Linked DNA regions of Homo sapiens: regions 1 and 2 are each linked to region 3. Evidence: promoter capture Hi-C in 16 types of primary human blood cells and fetal thymus (Javierre and others, 2016). All regions are on one chromosome and are shown on one strand. Each heading gives the region's core, a stretch centred on a gene start or on the middle of the fragment in contact. The rest is flanking DNA. Distances are from core to core; before and after follow the strand shown. Region 1 has its middle 16 kb from the start of DEFB136. Region 2 overlaps DEFB134 (defensin beta 134). Region 3 holds the start of SLC35G5 (solute carrier family 35 member G5).

Region 1 (3,294 bases), core at 49-2,548, 630 kb before region 3:
TTCACAAACACTCAGCATTGTCTGTCTTCTACATTTTCACCTTCTGGTGGGTGTGTAGTGGTATCTCATTGTTTTTTCATGGGTTTTGTTTTGTCTTGTTTGAGACAGAGGTTCCCTTTGTCGCCCAGAGTGGAGTGCAGTGGTGCGATCTTGGCTTGCTGCAACCTCAGCCTCCCAGCTCAAATGATTCTCATGCCTCAGCCTTTTAAAATTATTTTTTGTTTGGCAGGGCACGGTGGCACATATCTGTGATTCCAGCACGAGTAGCATGCCACTACACCCGGTTAATTTTTGTATATTTTATAGAGATAAGATTTCTCCCTGTTAGCCAGGCTGCTTTCAAACTCCTGACCTCAGGTGATCCACCTGTCTCGGCCTCCTGAAGTGCTGGAATTACAGGCGTGAGCCACCATGCCCTGCGAAACAAAAAATAATTTTAAAATTATCCAAATGTGTCTCTTTAAAAATTTTTGTTGTTGTCGTTTTGAGACAGAGTCTCCCTCTGTCGCCCAGGCTGGAGTGCAGTGGCGCAATCTTGGCTCACTGCAACCTCCACCTCCTGGGTGCAAGCGATTGTCCTGCCTCAGCCTCCCTGAGTAGCTGGGGCTACAGGCATGCGCCACCACGCCCAGCTAATTTTTTTTGTACTTTTAGTAAAGACGAGGTTTCACCATGTTGGCCAGGCTGGTCTTGAACTCTTGACATCAGGTGATCCACCTGCCTCGGCTTCCCAAAGTGCTGGGATTACAGGCGTGAGCCACCGTGCCCGGCGAAAAATATTTTTTCACTTCCATTTATCCAACAGTTCCTGCTGTTTTGCATACCTGGCACTAAATGTCTTCTTCCGCTTTCCTGTTCCCCACTTCTTTTGTGGGATCCACTGGAAGCCTCCCTTGTGGACTGTGACTCTTTCCTGCCACCAGGTGGCAGACTTTGCCTGCTGTGCCACCTCTCCTGCCTGCTCAGTGTCGGTGGGAGTTGGGGGTGGACAAGCTGAGAGAGTTCTGTATCTTTTCTGAAGTTCTGCTTGGCGATCAATTGCTTCCTTTTCTTTTTGGTCCTCGTGGTCAGCACAATGCTTCGGATAGAGTCAGCATTCAATAACAAGCAAAGCAGACACAGTTTTTGTTTGTAAGTTAAAGTTCTAGAGGCCTATTGCATAACAATGTGTGTCTATGTAACACGACTGAACCGTACTCTCAAAAGTGGTTATGAAGATAAATTTCATGTTATATGTTTTGCAGCACAATTAAAAGTAAAAAATAAAAAAAAATAGGCCGGGCACGGTGGCTCATGCCTGAAATCCCAGCACTTTGGGAGGCCGAGGTGGGCATATCACCTGAGGTTGGGAGTTCGAGACCAGCCTGACCAACATGGACAAACCCCGTCTCTACTAAAAATACAAAATTAGCCAGGCCTGGTGGCACATGCCTGTAATCCCAGCTACTCGGGAGGCTGAAGCAGGGGAATCGCTTGAACCTGGGAGGCGGAGGTTGCAGTGAGCTGAGATCGCGCAATTGCCCTCCAGCCTGGGCAACAAGAGTGAAACTGCGTCTCAATAAATAAATAAATCAGGCCTTTCTTTACCCAACCCCAACCCCAAGGTGGCGCTCATCATCATGTGCTTACACCTCCTGTTATCATTTCTATCAAAAATAATAACAATAACACAAAATTGAAAAGCAAAGTAGATTAATGGGTTGGGCACGGTGGCTTGTGCCTGTAATCGCAGCATTTTGGGAGGCTGAGGCAGGTGGATCGCCTGAGGTCAAGGGTTCAAGACCAGCCTGGCCAACATGGTGAAACCCTGTCTCTACTAAAAATACAAAAATTAGCTGGGCGTGGTGGCCTACACCTGTAATCCCAGCTACTTGGTTGGGAGGCTGAGGCAGGAGAATCGCTTGAACCCAGGAGGCGAAGGTTGCAGTGAGCCGAGATCGTACCATTGCACTCCAGCCTGGGCAACAGAGCGAGACTCGTCTCAAATAAATAAATAAATAAATGCAAAGTAGATTAATGAAGGCAAAGCCTCTCTTTGCATAATTTCTCTACAAGAATGTCCACTCTCCAAATTCTCTGTGACCTGTTTGCAGAACGTGACAGTTTACAGCAATAAAGGCACACGAGGTTACAGCTGTGGCCTTCCTCTCGCAGCAAGGGGGAGCTAGGGCCCAAATAAACATTCAAACCAAGGAGCACAGCAGTGAGTGGCCTAATGGTGGGATAGCGGGAGGCTGCGCACTGGGTGAGGCCGTCCCAGGGGAGACCCTCCTGCCACTGCTGGGTCTGACGCAGGAAAGCAGCCCCTGCTGTGGGCCCATGAGACAGCTGCCAGAAGGCCAAGCTGCCCATGACAGCTCCTTCGCCTGCAAACACACACACACATGCCTGGAGATGGATCTGGCAAGGCCCTTGGAAATCACCTCTGAAGATGAGTAAACTGAGGCTCGGAGAGGCAAAGGAACATTGTCAGGACCACACTGTGAGGGAGGCCAGAAACCGCACTGGATCCCAGGTCTGCGGAGGGGCAGCCCAGTGCCCCATGCACTACACCATGTGCATTTAAGGAAGGAAGTTGGCAAAAACGATGGGTGGAAATCAGTTTCTGACCACTTAGAAAGTGGAAATCCTTAGCAAAGATAAGTTGATAAGATGTATCAATTGGGTTTAATTCTGTAAAAAGTTGTACATTCAAAATGTATATAAAAGGAAAGACACAAATTTGGAAAACAAGGGAGGTGGAGGCAAAACAAAAATATTAATAATAATCAGTGAAGAGAACAGCACCGTGCTGGCCCAGTGGCTCACGGCTGTAATCCAAGCAATTTGGGAGGCTGAGGCGAGCAGATCACTTTAATCTAGGAGTTCGAGGCCAGCCTGGGCAACATAGAGAGACCCTCCCCCCACCCGCACATCTCTTTAAAAAATAAAAACATAACTGGGGCCAGGTGCAGTGGCTCACACCTGTAATCCCAGCACTTTGGGAGGCAGAGGTGGGCAGATCACTTGAGGTCAGGAGTTCAAGACCAGCCTGGCCAACATGGTGAAACCCCACACTAAAAATACAAAAATTAGCCAGGTGTGGTGGTGCGTGCCTGTAATCTCAGCTACTTGGGAGACAGAGGCAGGAGAATTGCTTGAACCTGGGAGGCAGAGGTTGCAGTGACCCGGGATCGCACCACTGCACTCCAGCCTGGGTGACAGAGTGAGACTCCGTCTCAAAAAAAAAAAAAAATGTAGCCAGATGTGGTGGCGCACACCTGTGGTCCCAGCTACTCCAGGGGCTGACGTGGG
Region 2 (3,764 bases), core at 712-3,211, 660 kb before region 3:
AACAAGAAAGAGTATAGAATATATTATTCTATTCACATGAAATTCCAAGAAAATACAAAGTAATCTATAGTGTCAGCAGAAAAGTTGTGGCCTTTAGACTGAGAGGTGAAAGAGAATCAGGAGGGGAATATTACAGAAGGCATGAAAAAATGTTAGGGGGAATGGATATGTTCATTATTTTGAATGTGACAATGGTCTCACAAACGTATAGATATGGCAAAACTTATCCGATTGTACACTTTACTGTTTGAAGTTTATTGTATGTCACTTATACTTCAATAAAAAATGTTTTTTTAAATAGTAACAATTATTTTAAATGACCTTGACAAAATATTGTGCAACACTTAAAAATACTATTTATGAAGTTTATAGTGACACTGATATATAGTATATATCAAGTTACAAAAGCAGGATACCTAATTATAAGAATATTGTTTATAGCTATGTAAAACAAAATATTAAACAACAAACTAGGCATAAATGAAACTTTCTTTAGAATGACAGTTTGTCTCTGAGAAGAGCAGTTCATCTGTAACTTGTCCATCCTTGTCATGTTTAATATTTTACCAATTTTCTAAAATTAGCAATTACATTTTTATTGGAACAAAAGCCTATCAAATTTTAATTTTACTCATTTAAAAGAGTAAGAGCACATAGTTCTCAGGCCTCCATGTACTTTTGGAAAACCTGGGTGGGAGAACAGTGTCTTTGTCAATAGGAAAAGCTGTCAAACAAGAAAGGGCTGTCCATTTTTTTTCCTCAGATGAGCATTGCCAACACGGCTGCCTCAGGGGTGTTCAGTGTAGCATATCTACCTGAAGCGAGGCATACCCCAGCCCTGAGAGGTTTGTATAGGACTGTGTGCTCAACCTCTTCTCTCTGTTCCCTGACAGCCGATGTCAGACCCTGCCACTAGCCTCCTTAACAGAAGTTCCCAGCCATGAAGCCTCTCCTTGTTGTGTTTGTCTTTCTTTTCCTTTGGGATCCAGTGCTGGCAGGTAAAACTGGCATATTTTGGGGGGTAGGGGTGCTTCATATAGAAGAACAATGCCACTAAACAACCCAATAAACATACACCACCCATGGGCCCTTTAATTTTCAAGCTAGAAAAAAGCATCAACTAGTTTTGATGTCAGCAAGACCTGGGCTTGAATCTGGCTGTCCAACTTGTTAACTATATAACTTTGGACAAAGGTCTAAGCTTCTCTGAGCCTTAGTTTCCTTTTTTTTTTTGGCTGAACTGATCCGCACCAATGAGCCTTAGTTTCTTCATTTGAAAAATGGAAATATGGAAATGAAGAGTCTCACAAGGATTAAATCAGATCATGTATGGAATATGTCCATACATAATATGAAAAGTACCTGGCTCATGAGAGCTATCATTGTATTTTCATTAGTAATGCCCATCCTGTCTTCCTGCTGTTATTTTGTCTCTAATTCAAGAATGTATCTAAGTATAATAGTCAAAACCAGAAAATAGTGACAACACAATTTGTTAATTTTCTAATATACTGCAGTTTCCTACAGTTAATTTACTATTTGTGAATCCATTAGTTACATGAGGAAACAGATTTAGAACGGCTAGTTTCAAGAGAATCACTGAGCTTTATGTGATAGAAGAAATGCCTGATCAGATGAGATAGCAGCCAGGGAGACATGACAGAGAGTGTGAGTGGCCCTGTGCTCTAGCTTCACCATATCCTTTCCGACTTTAGCAATCTCATCTGGAAAATTCTTTTCACTCAGTGTTACTGAATCAGTCCAGTCAGATTGGTTCATCTGCCTAGATGGACTGAAGTGTTTGCCTGAAGTATTCTCCAGGCAAATGAATCACATCTTCAGATTATGTGACTCACCAGGCTAAATTTAAGAATTCATGGGATCAAGGCCTCTTAAAGCTGCTGATGCAACCAATTCCATTACGGTTTATGGCAATGGATTTGTGGCCTCCAGACAAAGAACCCCATATAGTGTACAATATTCCCTTCAATTCCTTTTGCATTCTCATAACTTGTCATTTCCATTGAAAGTTCTTGTCTCATTTTATAGACCATTATATTTCATCTTCCCAAAAGTGTTACAGATTGTCCTCTAGGGCTTCTGTCTTGCAAACTAAGTAACACTGATCCCTTCTTGTTCATGTAGGACAATTATCCTCCAGGGCATTATGACTCAGATAGGGTATGTGTTTGCTCAAAATTTCTACAGATTCCTTGAGCTTCAATAAGACTTCTCAAATCTTCAGAATTGATTTCATCCTCCTTCAAACTCACAAGACCGTTCCACATTGCAAATACATCATTGCACTTGTCATGTTTTTTCCTCTCTCAGAGATATTTTGTATTTCTTCTCTTTTTGTCTAGAATGAAAATTCATTGAGGTTAAGGTCTATATCATACTCAAATCTGTACCCCAACAGTCCTTGATTCACAGGATTTATAAAAATTGGTTTATGAATAATAATGAGTAAGTAATTATTTAAAAAATAATGAATGAATGACTATGTGAATAGCTAGCTTGATTGTTTGGGTTATATTCATTGACAAATTCAGGGAAACTTCCAAATTATTACTTGTTTTAGTCAGCTTGGGCTGCGATAACAAAATTCCGCACACTGTGGCTTAGACAAACTTTATTTTCTCATAGTTCCAGAAGATGAGAAATCCAAGATCAAGGTGCTAGCTGATTCAATTTCTGATGAGAGCTTGCTTTCAAGCTTGTAGATGGCCATCTTTTTGCCGTGACCTTCACTAATAAGACCATCAATCCTATTGGATTAGCCTATCAATCTTATTGGATTAGGGTTCCACCATCATGACCTCATTTAACTTATATTACTTCCTGAAGGCCCTATCTCTAAAGACAGTCACATCAGGGGTGAGGGTTTCAGCATATGAATTTTGGGGTGACACAATTCAGCCCCTACCACTAATTAATTTTTTCAGTTACAGGATCAATTATCATAACCAAATCTCCTTGGTATCCGGTTGGATAAAAATTGAGGGACTAGCAATTTTATGGTCCAAAAAGGCCTGTAGTGAATTATCTTTCTATTCATTTTCCTTCCAGGTATAAATTCATTATCATCAGAAATGCACAAGAAATGCTATAAAAATGGCATCTGCAGACTTGAATGCTATGAGAGTGAAATGTTAGTTGCCTACTGTATGTTTCAGCTGGAGTGCTGTGTCAAAGGAAATCCTGCACCCTGACATAAGAAACCAATGAATGGCCACTATCCTGTAGGCCCTTGATTCTGCCATCTTTCACAAAACCAGGGAATTTAGATCAAACTGTGACACCATGATGTGTCCATGACTACTGGTTTTTAGCATTTTTATAGGCCAGCAGACTCTTGTGGTCTTAAATTTAAAGAGCTGAGCTGTAGCCTTCTTTAAAAGAGCTCGGTTTTTCACAAAAACAATGTAGAAGATATTTTCTCACCTCAACGTGATGTCCAGTGTGCTCATCAGCACCTGTTTCTCCCTCTAATCATAGAGGATATTCTTATTATTTAGAAAGGCTTCAAGGGAAACAACTTTTGACACCTAAGTCGTGTCCTACCTTCGCTTCAGCTTCGCATTTCCCATTTCTGTGAAATTCCCAACTTTAGAGAAGCAGATTTGCCATGGCCTTCTGACAACCTTGTACATCTCTCACATAAACCGCATAGGCAGGGCTTAACTACAGGCTGGCCCGAGTCTGCACTGAGTCTGACCCTGAAGTTCCTTTGGAACAGGAGAGGCCATCTTGTGATGGGCTGG
Region 3 (3,756 bases), core at 717-3,216:
CTCAGAGTGGATAATTTCAATAATCCTATCTTCAAATTTGCTGATCCTTTCTTCTGCCTGATCAAAAACTCTACGGAAGGCTGGGCGTGGTGGCTAATGCCTGCAATCCCAGCATTTTGGGAGGCCAAGGCGGGTGGATCACAAGGTCAGGAGTTTGAGACCAGCCTGGCCAACATAGTGAAACCTCATCTCTACTAAAAATACAAAAATTAGCTGCGTGTGGTGGCATGCACCTGTAATCTCAGCTACTTGGGAGGCTGATGTAGGAGAATTGCTTGAACCCAGAAGGCGGATGTTACAGTGAGCTGAGATCATGCCACTGCACTCCAGCCTGTGTGACAGAGCAAGATTCTGTCTCAGAAAAAAAAAAGCAAAAAACAAAAAACAAACAAACTCTATCGAACCCTTCTAGTGAATTTCTCATCTCAGTTGTCGCACGTTTCAGCTACAAAATTTCTACCTGGTTCCTTTCTATAATTTTTATATTTTTATTGATATTCTCATTTTGTTCAAACATCATTTCTCTGATTTCATTTAGTTGTCTTTTAACTCTTGTGCATATTTAAGACAATTGTTTAGTCTTTGTCTAGTAAGTCCAAAGTCTGGGATTCCTTAAGGATAGTTCAATTAATTTTATTCCTGTAAATAAGCCAGATTTCTCATTTGTTTGCATGCTTTGTGATATTTTTATTATAACTGAACATCTCAATATTATAATGTGCTATGGAAGTTAGACTTTCACTCTTTCCTAGGATTTATTATAATTATTTTTTTTCTTTTATTTTTTTTTTGTCTTCAGTCTTTGTCTTTATTTATCCCTGTCCCTCCCAACCCCCGGGCTCCCAAGTTCTATCTCACTCCTCCACCTTCCCTGTCCTCTCACAGCTGAGGTTCCGGGCTGTAATGATGGCAATGCTGCCCAGCACAACCCCTGCCCCCATGATGTCAGAAAGTGCCACAGTCTCATGGAGCATATAATACTGCAGTATAAGGGCCACAACCACCTCGGAATGCAGGACAGCGCACACCAGGGCAGGGTGGGCCTTGGTGACCGCATAGCCCACACATGTGAAGGAGACCAAGGCGAGGATCCCCTCTGCCCCCACACAACTCCAACTCAGGAGGTCACTGGGCAACACGGGGGTCTGCAGCACAAAGAGGCCTGGCACACAGCCCAGCAGCCCCACCAAGCCAGATAGGAAGGCCACTGTTGGGAGGCAGGAGGGAAAGTGCAGAGAACGATAGACCAGAAGCCCCAGGGACAGCGCCAGGCCTCCCAGGAAAGCCTGCACATAGCCCAGGGTGGTGTAGACACCTGTGGTCCCCTCCTGTAGTGTCCAGAGTCCAGGTCCCAGAATGATGATTAGTCCTAGGATGCTGCCCAACAGTCCACACCACTCGTAGCCACCGAGACCCTGGCTCTCAAGGCAGAGGGTGAGGACAGCGGAGCATACGGTGGAAGAACCTTTGCGAACAGTGGCAGCGTTGCCAGCGGGCACCACCTGAACTGCACTGTAGGCACATCCAATGCTGAGGACGTTGAGCAGGGCACAGAAGCAGGCCCAGCCTCGGATGTCAGGAGGTCCCAGAAGGGGGTCGCCACGCAGTTTAAGTAGCAGGGCAATAGGGAGGTGGAAGAGGCATCGACAGATGAGCAGCTCCAGCGAGGGCAGGTTGGAACCCTGGTAAGCCATACGAGAAAGGGGGCCCACGAAGCCAGCAGGCAGGCCCCCACCCAGCAGGGCCACCAGCAGGCCATTGGTGGCACCAGAGGGCTGGCAGCGCTGGTGCCAGCGGAGGCTGGGTGGAGCGGAGGGCGGCGATGGGTGTGTGGAGTCAGGCAGGTTGAAGTAGGGGTGACTGCCAGCCATCTTTCCTTGGACTTTCTCCTCTCCTCCTGGCTCAGGGAGCCTGGGCCCCTCAGAGCTCCAGCCATTGTGACCTCATTGGAGTGCGGGTGGGGTTCTTCCCTGGAACTCTCCTGAGGTGGTAGCACGCCTATTTTCCCGCTGAGTCCAACTCTGCTTCTTTTCTTTCTTTCTTTCTTTCTTTTTTTTTTTTTTAATTGATCATTCTTGGGTGTTTCTCGCAGAGGGGGATTTGGCAGGGTCATAGGACAATAGTGGAGGGAAGGTCAGCAGATAAACAAGTGAACAAAGGTCTCTGGTTTTCCTAGGCAGAGGACCCTGCGGCCTTCCGCAGTGTTTGTGTCCCTGGGTACTTGAGATTAGGGAGTGGTGATGACTCTTAACGAGCATGCTGTCTTCAAGTATCTGTTTAACAAAGCACATCTTGCACCGCCCTTAATCCATTTAACCCTGAGTGGACACAGCACATGCCCCAGAGAGCACAGGGCTGGGGTCAAGGTCACAGATCAACAGTATCCCAAGGCAGAAGAACCCCTCCCAGTACAGAACAAAATGAAGTCTCCCATGTCTACTTCTTTCTACACAGACACAGCAACAATCTGATTTCTCTATCTTTTCCCCACCTTTCCCCCTTTTCTATTCCACAAAACCGCCATCGTCATCATGGCCCGTTCTCAATGAGCTGTTGGGTACACCTCCCAGACGGGGTGGTGGCCGGGCAGAGGGGCTCCTCACTTCCCAGAAGGGGCAGCCGGGCAGAGGCGCCCCCCACCTCCCTCCCAGACGGGGCAGCTGGCCGGGTGGGGGCTGACCCCCCACCTCCCTCCCGGACAGGGCGGCTGGCCGGTGGGGGGCTGACCCTCCACCTCCCTCCCGGACGGGGCGGCTGGCCAGGCCGCGGCTGACCCCCCACCTCCCTCCCGGACGGGGCGGCTGGCCGGGCGGGGGCTGATCCCCGACCTCCCTCCCGGACGGGGCTGCTGGCCGGGCGGGGGCTGACCTCCCACCTCCCTCCCGGATGGGGCGGCTGCCAGGCGGAGACGCTCCTCACTTCCCAGACGGGGCGGCTGCCGGGCGGGGTGCTCCTCACTTCCCAGACGGGGCAGCTGCCAGGCGGAGGGGCTCCTCACTTCTCAGACAGGGCGGCCGGGCAGAGACGCTTCTCACCTCCCAGACGGGGTCGCAGCCGGGCAGAGGCGCTCCCCACATCTCAGATGATGGGCAGCTGGGCAGAGACGCTCCTCACTTCCTAGACGGGATGGCGGCCAGGAAGAGGCGCTCCTCACTTCCCAGACTGGGCAGCCGGGCAGAGGGGCTCCTCACATCCCAGACGATGGGTGGCCAGGCGGAGACGCTCCTCCCTTCCCAGACGGGGTGGCGGCCGGGCAGAGGCTGCAATCTCAGCACTTTGGGAGGCCAAGGCAGGCGGCTGGGAGGTGGAGGTTGTAGCGAGCCGAGATCACGCCACTGCACTCCAGCCTGGGCAACATTGAGCACTGAGTGAACCAGACTCCGTCTACAATCCCGGCACCTCAGGAGGCCGAGGCTGGCGGATCACTCGCGGTTAGGAGCTGGATACCAGCCCGGCCAACACAGCGAAACCCTGTCTCCACCAAAAAAATACGAAAACCAGTCAGGCGTGGCGGCGCGAGCCTGCAATGGCAGGCACTCGGCAGGCTGAGGCAGGAGAATCAGGCAGGGAGGTTGCAGTGAGCCGAGATGGCAGCAGTACAGTCCAGCTTTGGCTCGGCATCAGAGGGAGACCATGGAAAGAGAGGGAGAGGGAACTCCTGGGCTCAAGTGATCTTCCCACTCCAGCTTCTGAGTAGCAAGGACTGCAGATGAGCACCATCATGCCTGGCTAATTTTTTTATTTTTTGTAAAGACA

Evidence for each region. Contacts are between HindIII fragments. The CHiCAGO score rates a contact against its expected background, and 5 or more counts as called.
Region 1: a fragment that was not itself captured here is called in contact with the fragment with the promoter of SLC35G5 in region 3 in 2 of 17 cell types (naive B cells and total B cells); the score reaches 7.0 in naive B cells.
Region 2: a contact is called between a fragment that was not itself captured here and the fragment with the promoter of SLC35G5 in region 3, in 4 of 17 cell types (naive B cells, total B cells, M2 macrophages and 1 more). The highest score is 10.0, in naive B cells.

Annotation. Positions count from the first base shown.
Region 1 is chr8:11,956,692-11,959,985 of GRCh38, reverse strand. No RefSeq gene overlaps it. Among named protein-coding and RNA genes, the nearest start is that of DEFB136, 16 kb to the left of the region's middle. RefSeq lists enhancers at 1,815-2,330, 2,331-2,848. The HindIII fragment of the contact is 4,870 bases long and covers 1-3,294 here.
Region 2 is chr8:11,993,428-11,997,191 of GRCh38, reverse strand. DEFB134 (defensin beta 134) reads left to right here. Exons shown (of 3, transcript NM_001302695.2): 2 at 894-998; 3 at 3,070-3,764. The coding sequence starts at 941. The coding sequence ends at 3,212. Among named protein-coding and RNA genes, the nearest start is that of DEFB134, 5.4 kb to the left of the region's middle. The HindIII fragment of the contact is 1,515 bases long and covers 1,204-2,718 here.
Region 3 is chr8:11,329,222-11,332,977 of GRCh38, reverse strand. SLC35G5 (solute carrier family 35 member G5) reads right to left here and starts at 1,966. Exons shown (of 1, transcript NM_054028.2): 1 at 618-1,966. The coding sequence starts at 1,871. The coding sequence ends at 855. It also overlaps a transcript of MTMR9 not described here. The HindIII fragment of the contact is 5,485 bases long and covers 1-3,756 here.